Regions from separate parts of the Homo sapiens genome. Here region 1 is linked to region 2. Evidence: promoter capture Hi-C in human tissues and cell types (Jung and others, 2019). All regions are on one chromosome and are shown on one strand. The core of a region is centred on a gene start or on the middle of the fragment in contact, and the rest is flanking DNA. Distances in the headings are between cores, read along the strand shown. Region 1 overlaps IQGAP1 (IQ motif containing GTPase activating protein 1). Region 2 holds the start of PRC1 (protein regulator of cytokinesis 1).

Region 1 (6,660 bases), core at 592-3,091, 510 kb before region 2:
GCAGGTAAGCATCACAGGTCCCTTAGCTTTCTTCTTTTACTTCAGCCACCATACACGTAGCAAACTGGAATCTTGTCACCTCTTGGGAATGTTCTTTCCTAAAATCTCAAAGTTAATGTTCTGTTCTATCACCAACGTTTTTTAGCATATTGATTCCCTTGCTGGTTACTACTTTTAAAACTCATATAAATAATAAAATATACAATATTCTTTATTGTTAAGTTCCATGTATTTATTTATTTCTCATAGAATGTTTCTGTTGATTTTTGCAGAATTTTTGTGTTCATAGTCTACCAATTTTAATTTAGCCATGCTATGACAAATGAAGAGGGGTATCCCTATCTACTTGTATTTTTCTTTTTGTTGTTGTGGTTGAGACAGAGTCTCGTTCTGTTGGTCAGGCTGGAGTGCAATGGTGTAATCTCAGCTCACTGCAACCTCTGCCTCCCTGGTTCAAGCGATTCTGCTGCCTCAGCCTCCCGAATAGCTGGGATTACAGGCATGCGCCACACGCCTGGCTAATTTTTGTATTTATAGTAAAGATGGGGTTTCTCCATGTTGGCCAGGCTGGTCTCAAACTCCTGACCTCAGGTGATCCACCCGCCTCGGCCTCCCAAAGTGCTAGGATGACAGGCGTGAGCCACCACACCCGGCCTCTACTTGTATTTTCTAAGGCTGCCATAACAAATCACCTCAAATTGGGTGGCTTAAAACAACCGAAAGTCATGGTCTCACAATTGTGGAGGCCAGAAATTTGAAACCATTATCATGAAGTCGAGGTGCTGGAAGAGCCACGCTCCCTGCAGAGGCTCTAGTGGAAACTCTGTTTCTTGACTCTTAGAGCTTGTGGTGACTGTTGACATCCCTCAACTTGTGGCTGTGTGGTTCCAGCCTCTGCCTTTGTGGTCACATTGCCTTCTCTTCCCCTTCTGTGTGTACCAAAGCTCTCTCTGCCTCTTTTTTTTTTTTTTTTTTTTTTTTTTAAGACAAGGTCTTGCTCAAGCAGTCCTCCCACCTCAGCCTTCCTAGTAGCTGGGAATGCTAGCATGTGCTGCTGTGCCTGGCATAGCACTCCTATCCTTGAAGACCTCCTTCTGGTTTCTAACAAAGTCCAGATTTGTCAGTATCATATACGGGGTCTGTCATGGCCTGCTCCCTGTCTGCTTTTCCACTGTCATTTCTCCTGTCTCCCCTTCCTTCCTAGAAGACTCTTCCTCTCCTTTTTTCCTGAGTTCAAGCATCCCTTCGTTTTGGAAGCTTTCCTTGCTTTTTCCATTCTGAGTTGAAGCCCTTTCCCTATGGTCCTGTGGCACTTTTGGTGAACTGATTTACAGCACAATAGGTTTATAATCATCTGTTTGTGTGTCGCTCCCACCAGACTGTAAAAGACTGAAGAGAAGGTGTCATGTCTTGTATAACTTTTATTCCCAAGTGCCTGTTATTGTGCCTGGCACACAATTCAGGCACCTGATTCACAGTTAAAAACCTGCGTTCAGATTCTAGACTTATCACTTACCAGCCCCGTGAGGATGAGCTTAAGCTATCTAATATTTCTGGGTCTTATAGTTTATGAAAGATAAGACACTTGCTTCAGGCTGTTCCTGGCTGTTAGTCTAACATAGTTGGGTATAATTTCTGTCTTCCCAGCAAACTGCCCTATGATGTGACCCCTGAGCAGGCGCTAGCTCATGAAGAAGTGAAGACACGGCTAGACAGCTCCATCAGGAACATGCGGGCTGTGACAGACAAGTTTCTCTCAGCCATTGTCAGCTCTGTGGACAAAATCCCGTGAGTGCCATCAGTTGTCATGACCCCCAGTAGAACCCAGCACTAAGTGCCTTTCTGCTCCTTGGCCCTTCTCACTAAGTTTTGTCCATCCCGCAGTTATGGGATGCGCTTCATTGCCAAAGTGCTGAAGGACTCGTTGCATGAGAAGTTCCCTGATGCTGGTGAGGATGAGCTGCTGAAGGTAAGAATCTCATAGCCGGCAGACTCCTGCCCTTTGAGGACAAAGCAATAAAACCAGGGCTGACCATAGATCATTACTAACTGCCTAAGTGTAGGTTCTGGCAGTAGCTTACCATTGATTGTGAGCTTTTGAAAGCAATTGTAATTGGTAAATGGTACCTCTCTTAGGATGAAACACTTCCTATAGTTTGGCACACAAACATCAAACAAGTAGAAAGATGGATTTTTCCTGTTTTCAGATGAGTTTCTTTGAGTCCTATCTTTTCGCTGTAGTATTGTTCCCTCTGCTGGTGACCTGGCGAATAGTAGCAGGCACAGTTGTTTCTGCTAAGGCTGTTGCTGATAACTCTTTCTTACTCAGCTATGCTCTTCTCTTTTCTTTTTTTTTTTAATCTGAATGCTTTTTTCTTCTCTCTCCTAGTTCTGTGCTTTCCTACAGTGAGGCCTCGATTCTAGACTTTCTGTTCAGGTGAATTAATTTTATTTCTTCTGAATGAAACTCTAGGGGAAATGCTGTGACTGCCCCTGAATTCTTCTGTGGAAGAGATGTGTGTTAAGTGAATTTAATTTCAGAGGCATGAACTTGGCCTTTGAAGTCTGCAGCATGAGAATGTTGGGAGGTGGGGTTACTCTATGCTGATTGGGTCATGTTAAGGAATTTAGCTATGTTTGTTAGCTTTTTATAAGGAAAGCCCATCTACATGAAAGTACAAAGTGCATGTGGGTGACAGCAGCCTTATTTGCTACCATGATATGTGAACAAAAGATGCCCTGAAATACTTAATAACAGACTTTAAGTGTGTCATTTTTACCTTCTGAATCTGCTCTTTCATTAACTACTGGCAGTAGTTTTCAGTTCTGTTCTCATTGTTTTCCTGTATTGAACAAAGGGATATTTCATTTAGTTCCAGGCCATGAGAGAGAGTGTGTATATGTGCATGCATGCGTGTGTATATGTATTTTTTATTTATTTTTTCCTCATAGGACTGCATTTTCTGCTTTTCTTTGCTAGCAAAGTCATTTATAGCTTCCTTGGTGGTATGTCTTTTAATACCCATCTTTCTGTTTCGTCTGTTCCAGATTATTGGTAACTTGCTTTATTATCGATACATGAATCCAGCCATTGTTGCTCCTGATGCCTTTGACATCATTGACCTGTCAGCAGGAGGCCAGCTTACCACAGACCAACGCCGAAATCTGGGCTCCATTGCAAAAATGCTTCAGCATGCTGCTTCCAATAAGATGTTTCTGGGAGATAATGCCCACTTAAGCATCATTAATGAATATCTTTCCCAGTCCTACCAGAAATTCAGGTAAGGGGAAAGGCACAAGTGCTTAAGAGAGTCTGTGGATGTATTTTTATTGTTGAGGGGAAAAATAAGATTAAAAACCACCTCTCACTTTCCCCGGACTGCCATATGTAGAAGACGTGTTTGATGTGCCCAGGATTCCAGAAGATGATCCATTTACTTTGAAGAGAATTTTCATATGAAATAGATAGTAGTTAACACTTATGAAATAGATAGTAGTTAACATAAAAATAATGATGATTATGCATTTAGTACATGTTACCTTGTAATCAGAGAAGAATTGGAGAATGCTTTTAATTTTTGTAAATTAACATCTAGTTTTGAATTCAGTGCTTCAGAGCACTGTCTTAGAGATAGAATTGGTTCTCCTAATGGTGTCTGGAAACTTTTAAGTCATGGTGCAATGGTTCTTATGGGTAAAACTAAAACTACAAACTAGGTGGAGAAAGAAGTTATTCGAACCACTATCCCAAGGTTGTCAAGCACAGCAAACACACAGCACTTTCTCTTGAAGTAACTGTTGACTGGCTTCTGTTTGCACTCATTGTGTGAGAGGTTTGTGAAATGTCCTCTTGCCAACTTCATGTGTATGTCCCTTTTTGGGGGGCTGCCTCCTGTGCTTATTTCAGACGGTTTTTCCAAACTGCTTGTGATGTCCCAGAGCTTCAGGATAAATTTAATGTGGATGAGTACTCTGATTTAGTAACCCTCACCAAACCAGTAATCTACATTTCCATTGGTGAAATCATCAACACCCACACTGTAAGTATTTTTCTTTAATTACTTAATTTCATTGTCCTTAATTATTATCCCTGGCTGCTGCTTATCATCTCTGGTAGCCAGGTGTCTAACCTTCCTGTAATCTAACTGACAATGCATCTCCTTGATGTCTCTTTTTTTGCTTGTTATTCTTTTTTGTTTATTTATTTATTTTTTGAGACAGAGTCTCACTGTGTTGCCCAGGCTGGAGTGCAGTGGCGCGATCTCGGCTCACTGCAAGCTCCACCTCCTGGGTTCACACCATTCTCCTGCCTCAGCCTCCCGAGTAGCTGGGACTACAGGCACCCGCCACCGTGCCTGGCTAAATTTTTTGAATTTTTGGTAGAGACGGGGTTTCACTGTGTTAGCCAGCATGGTGTCGATATCCTGACCTCATGATCTGCCCACCTCGGCCCCCAAAAGTGCTGGGATTACAGGCGTGAGCCACCACGCCTGGCCTTTTGCTTGTTATTCTTAACAGTATCTACTGCTAAGTTTCTAAAAGGTCTTCCCAGGCCACCTGCATCAGAATCCTATGGGCTGATAGTTAAAAATGAAGTTTCCTGGACACCGCCCCAGGCCTACTGAATCAAAATCCCACTAAATTTATCTATTGCCTTAATAAAATAGTGCTTTTACTCTTCTTTCTTTTTACCCTAGCTCTCTGCGTTATTTTTCTAACATGATCTAGAATACTAGCTTTCTCTGTGTAGCCTTGGAGTGGATTTTTCCCTTGGAAGCTGGAGCTCCATGTTTCTTCAGATTTTTCAAATCATTTTTTCCCCTCTGGGGACATGGACATGTAAAACAGGAACAAGGGCATATGTTAAAATGTAAATGAAATTTCAGGTTACTGTCATTTCTGAGGGCATCACTGGGGATAATGGCACCTTGAAGACTTTGTTGAGTGCCCCTACAATAATTATAACATTGATTTGGTATACTTTTCTCTGAATTAAATCATGTCATACACTGGAAACATTAAGTAAAAGCGTGCACGTGACTTATTTGAACTGGCAGTAGGGTACATTGATGACTTTGGGTATTGAACTTTGAGTTTCAGTGTTTTGTGGGTTTTTTGTGTTTGTTTGTTTTGTTTTGTTTTTTTGAGATGGAGTCTTGCTCTGTCACTCAGGCTGGAGTGCAATGGCGCAATCTTGGCTCACTGCAACCTCCACCTACTGGGTTCAAGCAATTCTTCTGCATCAGCCTCCCTAGTAGCTGGGATTACAGGCACACACCAGCACGCCCAGCTAATTTTTGTATTTTTAGTAGAGACAGGGTTTCATCATGTTGTCCAGGCTGGTCTTGAACGCCTGACCTCAGGTGATCCACCCGCCTTGGCTTCCCAAAATGCTAGAATTACAGACGTGAGCCACTGCACCCAGCCAGTGTTCTTTCTCAAACAGGGCACATTTGAATCCTTTATGGCCATGAGGTTAAGAGAATACCAGTATTTCCTCTTCTTATATCATAACATAAGTCATTCAACAGAGCCTGGTGTGGTGCCTTATATATCATATTGTTTATTTGGGTTAGTTTGCTGAGGATTTGCTTGTTGTTTCTTTGAATATAGGAACTTTGTTGGAACCTCTTTGTGCAGATCATTGTTAGACATTCTAGGGAGGGACGGGCTGAAGAGTTGAATGTATAAATGGAGTTGATCATTGGTGTTTGCAGCTCCTGTTGGATCACCAGGATGCCATTGCTCCGGAGCACAATGATCCAATCCACGAACTGCTGGACGACCTCGGCGAGGTGCCCACCATCGAGTCCCTGATAGGTAGAGTTCTAACTTTTGCCTGGAAGATCAAAAGGGAATGTGACAGAAAAGTGTTGTAATTGTCACCTCCTCTATTTTTTGCACTATACCAAACTCTGGATATACATTGAGAAATAAAATAGATGTGATCCTGATAGTTTCATAAGAGAGAAAACAACAACAACAACAAAAGCCCAGATGTGATCAATATCTATAAGGAACTGGAGTCAGAGGAAAAGATCATTTTAAACGCAGATACATACTGCCAGCTTGTGTTTTTTTAAAAAAATTGCAGATACATAAATTAAAAGTCCTCTAAAGGAAAGAATTTTTTTGTTTGTTTGTTATGAGACAGGGTCTCCCTCTGTTGCCCAGGCTGAAGTACAGTGGTGCAGTCATAGCTCACTGCAGCCTCAAATTCCTAGGCTCAAGTGATCCTCCTGAGTTGTTTTTTTTTTTTTTAATAGAGATGGAGTCTCACTATGTTGCCCAGGCTGGTCTCGAACTCCTGGCCTCAAGCCATCCTCCTCCTTTAGCCTTCCAAAGTGCTGGGATTGCAGGACTGAGCCACTGCACCCAGCCAGAAAGAATGTTTTCAGAGAGAATTGTGATATTGTAGTGTTGAAATGATTTCTCAAACATTTATGGAGTTATTATGGATCCCTTGCCTTTATCATTTGGCATAACATTTTATTTCTCAGTAAAAGTTGTTCTCGTCACACTGTATGTGTTAGGTGATTCAAGTATTATCTTAGACTTGCATCATCTTATATTTGTATTATTTCCCCCCAATATCTCCTCTCTTTATTACGCTGACTCTTTCCACCCTCCCAAAACTTCAGGGGAAAGCTCTGGCAATTT
Region 2 (7,647 bases), core at 2,343-4,842:
TAATTTTTGTATTTTTAGTAGAGACGGGGTTTCACCATGTTGGTCAGGCTGGTCTCAAACTCCTGACCTCGTGATCCGACCGCCTCGGCCTCCCAAAGTGCTGGGATTACAGGCGTGAGCCACTGTGCCCGGCCCATAATCTGAAATGTTTTTGATTTGTGACTTAATTGAAAAACTTACAGATTTTTACTATGGCCGGGCGCGGTGGCTCGTGTGCAATCCCAGCACTTTGGGAGGCCAAGGCGGGCGGATCACCTGAGATCAGGAGCTCGAGACCAGCCTGGCCAACATGGTGAAACCCCATCTCTACTAGAAATACAAAAATTAGCTGGGCGTGGTAGTGGGTGCCTGTAATCCCAGATACTCAGGAGGCTGAGGCAGGAGAATCACTTGAACCCGGTGAACCCAGGAGGCGGAGGTTGCAGTGAGCTGAGATCATGCCATTGCACTCCAGCCTGGGCAACAGAGCAAGACTGTCTCCAAAAAAAAAAAGAAATAAAAATTTTACTAATATATAACGTATTTTATTTGGCCTGTTGGAAATGGGTGTTTGGAATTACCAAACACCCATTATTATTATTCTAGTTAGAGACACTTCCTGTAAGAGGATCATTTTCAAATTAAAAACTAACATTTCTCACTCTTCCTAACATTCAAATTGTACTGAACTTAATTTTTTTTTTAAACTTAAATCTTGTATCATCCTTGACACTTCTTTCTTATATGCCCGCCATTAGCATTATCTACACAAGACAGGCAGAATCTCACTCCTCCTGACCTCTGCTGCTACCACTACCACCCCCACCCTGGTCCAGGTCACCACCACCAACTTCTTGCTGTATGGCAGGGGCCTCTTAACTGGTCTCCCGGCTTCGAAGCTGGCCTCCTTAAGTCCATTGTCAACACAGGAGCCCCAAGTCCTAATCTTCTACTCAGAACCCTCCAACGACTTGCCATCTCACTCTAAGGAAAAGCCTCTGACTTTCCAAAGACCTATGGAGCCCCATTCCATCTGAAAGCCATTTCTTTTGACCTCAGTGCTCATTCTATTCCTGTCACAGCGACCTCCTTGCTCTTTCTGGAACATACCAGGCGCTATCTCCCCTTAGGGCACTTGGATTTGCTGATTCCTCTACCTAGATCTCTTTTCCCCCATGCTGCATGGCTTCACCCTTTTCCTTCTTAGGTCTTTGCTCAGAGATCACCTTCTCAGGGAGGCCTTTCCTGACCCATCTCTTTAAAACCACAACCCCCCTTCCTACACCTTCAGTACTTCTTAACCTCTTGATTTCTCTACATAGCACTTACCACCATTTAAGACTAACTTATTTATTACACTCCTCTTTTGCTATTAGAATATAAACTCTGTGAGGGCAGGGATGTCACTTTTGCTCACTGCTATATCCCCAACACTTGCAATGGTTCCTTGTATATAACAAACATTCAAGAAGTATTTTTCTTTTCTTTTTTAGTATAAATTATTATTTTTTAAATAGAGACAGGGTCTTGCTATGTTGCCCAGGCTGGTCTTGAACTCCTGGGCTCAAGTCATCCTCCCACCTTGGCCTCCCAAAGTGCTGGGATTACAGGTGTGAGCCACTGTGCCAGGCCCAAGAAGTCTTTTTGAATGAATAACGTGACATTTCAAAAAAGTTGTATGATCTTAAGATGCTTCAGAGCAATCATTATGAACAATTATCATGATACACTTAAATACTCCCTGGCTAAATTGTTTCAGATAATCCCCTAAAAGCAGCAAGTCTGAGTTTTTTTTTTAGATTCACTGAAAAAAATCAAGAGTGCATACAAAGACTACCACTCAAGGACAAAAAGGTTGTAAAATGAGTCAGTTTTTCCAGTCTTGAACATAAATCACTGGACTGGAAGGTATCTCACAGTGGTCCTTAAATTATTTTCTACCTTCAGGCAGCCTTCACTGATCCACTGCCCTATTTTTTCTTAGCATTCCAGAGAAGGAGCTTTGTTGATCTCCAGTTCAACCTGTTTCGGGGATCGATAACCATAATTAATTCTGGCCAGAGTTTCGTTTGAGCCTCAGAGGTCAAAGCTGCAGTGAGCAATCTCGCCACTACACTCCAGCCTGGGCGACAGAGTGAGACCCCGTCTCAAAAAAAAAAAAAAAAAAAAAAAAAAAAAAGTTAATTATATCCATTAGCCTGGAACCAACATTAAAGGGTAAGTTTTCTCCTGCTTCATTCAATCCCTTGATAGAGGAGATGCCTACATAATTCATAAACTGTTAATGGACTTTTTTTTTTTTTTTTGAGACGTAGTCTCACTCTGTCGCCTAGGCTGGAGTGCAGTGTCGAGATGTCGGCTCATGCAACCTCTGCCTCCTAGGCTGAAGCGATTCTCCTGCCTCAGCCTCCTGAAAAGCTGGGGGTACAGGCGCGCCACCAGGGCCAGATAATTTTTGTATTTTTAGTTAAGACAAGGTTTTACCATGTTGGCACTCAATTCTCATTATTCTGAGGGCAAGCATTTTAAAAAGACTGATCAGAATTAGTGATCATGAAATGAAGAATCTTACAAAGCCTTAGAACAATCAGTTCCACCAAAAACTACACATTATTTAACGCTGTATCATCAGAAAACTGCATCCACAACTTTTAGAAAATAAAGTTAATATTTGGAAGTCACAAGGTTGGTAAGTGGCAGTGTCACCGTCTGGTCCCGATTTCAAGTCGGACAGTCCCTCCCCAACACCGCCTAGGAAGTTATTAAAACGACCGGAAAAGAATTCCATAATCCGTTTCTTAACTTGCAAAGAAACAAAGCTATCTTTCCAATTCAAACAAAACGTTAACACCGCTGGCCAGATATAAAGAAAAACAACGGGCCGGGCACGGTGGCTCACGCCTGTAATCCCAACACTTTGGGAGGCCGAGGTGGCAGGATTACTTGAAGCCAGGAGTTCGAGACCAGCCTGGCCAACATAGACCGCGTTTCCACAAAAATAAAAAAAAAGAATAAAACAAAGAAAAACAACGATAAATAAACTTAACAGCTTTAAAGAAAAGCCACGACCACAGAAGGTTTACAACGAGTCATCTGCGCCAAGCAGCGGCACCTGAGACGCTGCGGGCGGGGAGGGTGGGGTCCGAGCGCCAGCGCTGACCGCCTGGGTGGAGGCCGCCCCGGGCCCCGGGCCTCGACTACCCTGCCGCGTCCGGGCACCGGCGCTCGGCTCCCACCCGGGCGTCTGAGCCTGCGGGCACCTGCGGCCGCCGGCGGACAGCGCGTCAGGTCTCACCGCCGCGGCCCTCGCACTGGCTCGCCGCCTCCAGACCCTGCCCCTCAGCGCCCCCGGCCTCCCTCGGCGCCGACTGCCGTGACGATCTAGGCCCGGGACCCCGCACGGGTCCCGCACCCCTGAACAGGCCCCGCAGCCGAAACGAGCGTCGCTCCCTCCCGCGTCCCCTCGATTTCCCCGCAACCCGCACCTTCTCCTCATGGCGGACGCTCCAAGCAGCCGTGAGTCCAGGTCCAGACCTACTCCACACGGCCCCGAGAGCAACAACCACCCGCAAACACCGGCGATGTCACTCCGCGTAGCCGCTCCGCGAGCCGTTGAGCCCCGCAAAATTTCAAACCGCGCCACGGGGCGAAGCCTCGTCGCGATTGGCGTCGCGTCCCGTCGCTCCAAGAAAATCCCCGCCCCTCGGGCTGAAGTCGCGGGTGCGCAATCGGGGTGGGGACTCGCGAGCAGGGCCTGGGAAGCGCCGGAGTGGCGGCGGGGGATGACGTCACTGTCTGTGAGTGGCCGGGCGTGGCCTGCGCCTCCCGCTTCCCTGGCTTGGCGGCAGCCTCAAGGGACTCCTCTCCCAAGCCAGCTACCTCATCGGAGCGCCGCCCCGCCTCGCCCCGCGCAGTTTGGATTCGAAGTGCGCGGGCGGGGAGGGAGTTGAGAGCACCGCGGCTACCTGGCTTCCCTGAGTCCCGGCTGCCGGGAACGGGCGCGGGGGTGAATAGGTAAGTTAGCGCCTAGTTTCCCTCGCTCATCCAAGAAGCGAAGCTTGGAATCGATCTTTGGTGGGACTCTTCCCCAGATGTAAGAAGCCATACACTAAAGGGGAAGGGAAGGAACATTGAGTCCTGCTCATGGGCCTGGAACGTTTCAACGCCAGTTATCCCATTTAACCTCCACAATCGCCATTGCAGAGGAAACGCAAAAAGATTTGAATGATTTGCCTAAGTCACGTTATCAAATTAGATGAGTTTCTAAATCGTTACATGAAAAATTTAAAACTCAAAATAGACATTACTTTTGTAGCCTCCTTTCCTCGATGAACATGTTACATCCCTAAATGCTTATATATCACCGTTTTTTCCCAGTGATTCATGGTGGCATGGTGGCATGAATCCTGGTGTGTAGATATCTCGCCCATTCTGCTATTGATATTTAGATGATAATTTAAAAGATAAGGCTGGGCTGAATATCTTCATACATAAATCTTTGTGTATGTATGTATTTATAAATGCATCCTGCATTTTCGTACGGCTGATTCCTAGAGGTGTAATTACTGAATGCTCCCTTTATTAATTTGCCTTCTGCACAAAGCCTCACCGGAAAAGTACCCTCCTTTTGTTACCCTCAGCAGGGCTGAATTCTATTGTACTTCTAAACATCTTTGCTCATTTTGTAGGTAAAATAATAATACTGGCATTTCCTTGTTTGGCACTTGATTATAATTGAAATTGCACATTTTTCGTGTTTATTGGCCAACTGTAACTTAAGTGAATCCTCTTCATATGCCTTTTCCCTAAAGGTAAAGGATGCTTGTTTGCTTCACCTTCAGAACCATATTTTTCTTATTTTCAGAAAAACTTCATTAGTGCTTTCAATGTTCTTTTTACTTTTTTTAATTGAGACGGAGTCTCGCTCTGTCACCCAGGCTGTAGTGCAGTGGCCCAATCTCAGCTCACTGCAACCTCCGCTACCTGGGTTCAAGCAATTCTTGTGCCTCAGCTTCCCGAGTAGCTGGGACTACAGGCACGCACCACCATGCCTGGATACTTTTTTTTTTTGTATTTTTAATAGAGACGGGGTTTTGCCATGTTGGCCAGGCTGGTCTTGAACTCCTGACCTCAGGTGATCCGCCTGCCTCGGCCTCCCAAAGTGTTGGGATTACAGGCGTGAGCCAACGCGCCCGGCTTCCATGTTCTTTTTAACTTGTCAGCAGCATGCCAAACATTCACAGCACCAACACAGTGGGCGACAGGCACCACTTTTTCAATTTCCTTGCACTCTGTGATTAACATTGACACCACTAATAGAGTAGATGGTAGCACTACTTTTAAAATTTACTTGCATTCTTTGTTGATTAAATTAACAGGAGAGCTTTTCAGAAAGCTTCACAAATTTGTGATCTTCATACTTGTTCTTAGCACCAGCATTATGAAGTATCCAAAGAAAAGGCAATTTTTTCTCTCTTGTCCTTTACACTGAGGTGCTGAGGCTAACAAAGTCATAGAACTGATGCAAAGATATCCATTCAGAGCATAAACGCAGCATGTAAAACACTGTGTAATACGCGTTTATAATATATGACCTTAGCCTGGGCACTGTGGCAAAACCCTGTCTCTATAAAAAATACAAAAATTAGCCAGGTGTGGTGGTATGAGCCTGTAGTTCCAGCTACTTGGGAGGCTGAGGTGGGAGGATCACTTGAGCCCAGGAGGTCAAGGCTGCAGTGAGGCATGGTCACGCCACTGCACTCCAGCCTAGACGACAAAGCAAGACCCTTTCTCAAAAAAAAAAAAAAAAAAAAAAAAAAATCCTATTACAGGGTCATATATTTCTACTGGATGGAAGTGCAATGTTTTGCCACTGTTTAATCTTTTTCTGATGCCACCTATTCTTTCTGTGAATTAACAGCCCTGTTGGCAGTGTCTTTGGTCTTGCACACTAGCTTGACATAACACTCAAAATTCTAGCTAGATGCTTGAGGAATGCCTTTTCCTTGGAATATATTCTTATACAGAATTATCATTATTCTTATTTATTTATTTATTTTTTGAGACAGAGTCTTGCTCTGTTGCCCAGGCTGGAGTCCAGTGGCATGATCTCGGTTCACTGCAGCCTCTGCCTCCTGGGTTCAAGCGATTCTCCCACCTCAGCCTCATGAGTAGCTGGGACTACAGGTGCGCGCCTCCACAGCTGGCTAATTTTTATATTTTAGTAGAGACAGAGTTTCACCATGCTGGCCAAGCTGGTCTCAAACTCCTGACCTCAAGTGATTTGCCTGCCTCGGCCTCCCAAAGTGCTAGGATTACAGGTGTGAGCCACCGTGCGGGGCCCAGAATGATCATTATTCTATAGGAAGAATACTTTTGATGATCCAGTAACTCAGGTTTTGATTTTCTTTCTTCCTTTTAGTAAGTGGCAGCACTGTGGAATGGGGAACAGATGGAAGAATGAGCAGCTGGGAGGCACACTCTTGCAAAAACCCAGGCAAGAGACAATAAAGACCTCTGTCGTAGGGATGGTGAGGAGAAGATGAACTAGAGACATTTAGAAATAAGAACCAATAGCACAAGGGAACCAGCTGAAGGTGGGGCATAGAAAGAAAAAATCTGAGGTCAAGAATACAATTTTTTGCTCATTTGAACAAAGTTTGGGAATACAGGAAGAAGAGCAGATTAAAGGATTCAAGTAGGGACAGGAGCTTCCACTCATGAGTTTATTTTGTACATGCTGAGTTTGAAGTGCCTGTGGAATGACCAGGTAGGAAATACTTGTGTGGCGCTAAGGAGTGAGATGAAGGCTTGAGATCTGGAAGTGGATGACAACAAAGGACAGAGAGAGGGGAGATGTCAGCAAATGGGATGAGCAGAGAGGAGTAATCAAAGAACAACCTAAGAGACTGTGGGAGGACAAAGAAAGGGTATTATGGAAGCTGAATAAGACAATTTCAAGGAAAGCATAGTCATCAGTGAGATCAAGTTGGAAGAGGCCTGAAAAGAGGCCACTAATATAGGTGGTTGTAATTCCTTCTTTTTTTTTTTTTTTTTGAGACAAGGTCACAGCTTACTGCAGCCTCGACCTCCTGGGCTCAAAGGATCCTCCCACCTCAGCCTCCCCAGTAGCTAGGAATACAGGTGTGTGCCACCACCCTCGGCTAATTTTTTTATTTTTTGTAGAGACGGGGTCTTCCCATGTTATCCAGGCTGGTCTCAAACTCCGGGGTTCAAGCGTTCCTCTTGCCTCGGCCTCCAAAAGTGCAGTGATTACAGGCATGAGCCACAGCACCTGGCCTATATTTCATCATTTTTAAAAGGTAAAGAGAGAGAGAAAGGCTACTAGCATCAGTAATGAGGAGGGTGCTGGCACATTTATAGGAGCACTGTTTGCTGATGCCTGAAATGGCTCTAATGGCACACAATCTTTCATTCTGCAATAAGAAACAAACGCTTAAAATTGAAGTGCCTCCTTAAATTAAAACAACAAAGTCATTTTCTCAAAAATGTAATGAATCACAACATTTTAGAACTGGAAACGTGCTTGCTGGTCACCTCAGCCATCTCCCTCATTTTATGGTAGAGGAAACTCAGGTACAGAGTGGTAGAGTGATTTTTACAGGGAAGAACCAGACCAGGCCTGGAGCCACTACAAAGTCCAGGCCA

What was found. Contacts are between HindIII fragments. The study calls those that stand out against the background at their distance.
Region 1: a contact is called between a fragment that was not itself captured here and the fragment with the promoter of PRC1 in region 2, in 1 of the 25 tissues and cell types used here (spleen).

Annotation. Positions count from the first base shown.
Region 1 is chr15:90,480,313-90,486,972 of GRCh38, forward strand. It overlaps IQGAP1 (IQ motif containing GTPase activating protein 1), which reads left to right. Exons shown (of 38, transcript NM_003870.4): 27 at 1,648-1,788; 28 at 1,885-1,969; 29 at 3,049-3,281; 30 at 3,908-4,040; 31 at 5,718-5,820; 32 at 6,642-6,660. Among named protein-coding and RNA genes, the nearest start is that of CRTC3, 46 kb to the right of the region's middle. The HindIII fragment of the contact is 5,949 bases long and covers 1-4,816 here.
Region 2 is chr15:90,990,943-90,998,589 of GRCh38, forward strand. PRC1 (protein regulator of cytokinesis 1) reads right to left here and starts at 3,593. Exons shown (of 15, transcript NM_003981.4): 1 at 3,465-3,593. The coding sequence starts at 3,475. It overlaps LOC124903556 (a long non-coding RNA gene), which reads left to right and starts at 3,837. Exons shown (of 2, transcript XR_007064759.1): 1 at 3,837-3,993; 2 at 6,401-6,683. It also overlaps a transcript of VPS33B not described here. RefSeq lists enhancers at 2,899-3,766, 3,767-4,633 and a silencer at 3,130-3,349. The HindIII fragment of the contact is 8,571 bases long and covers 288-7,647 here.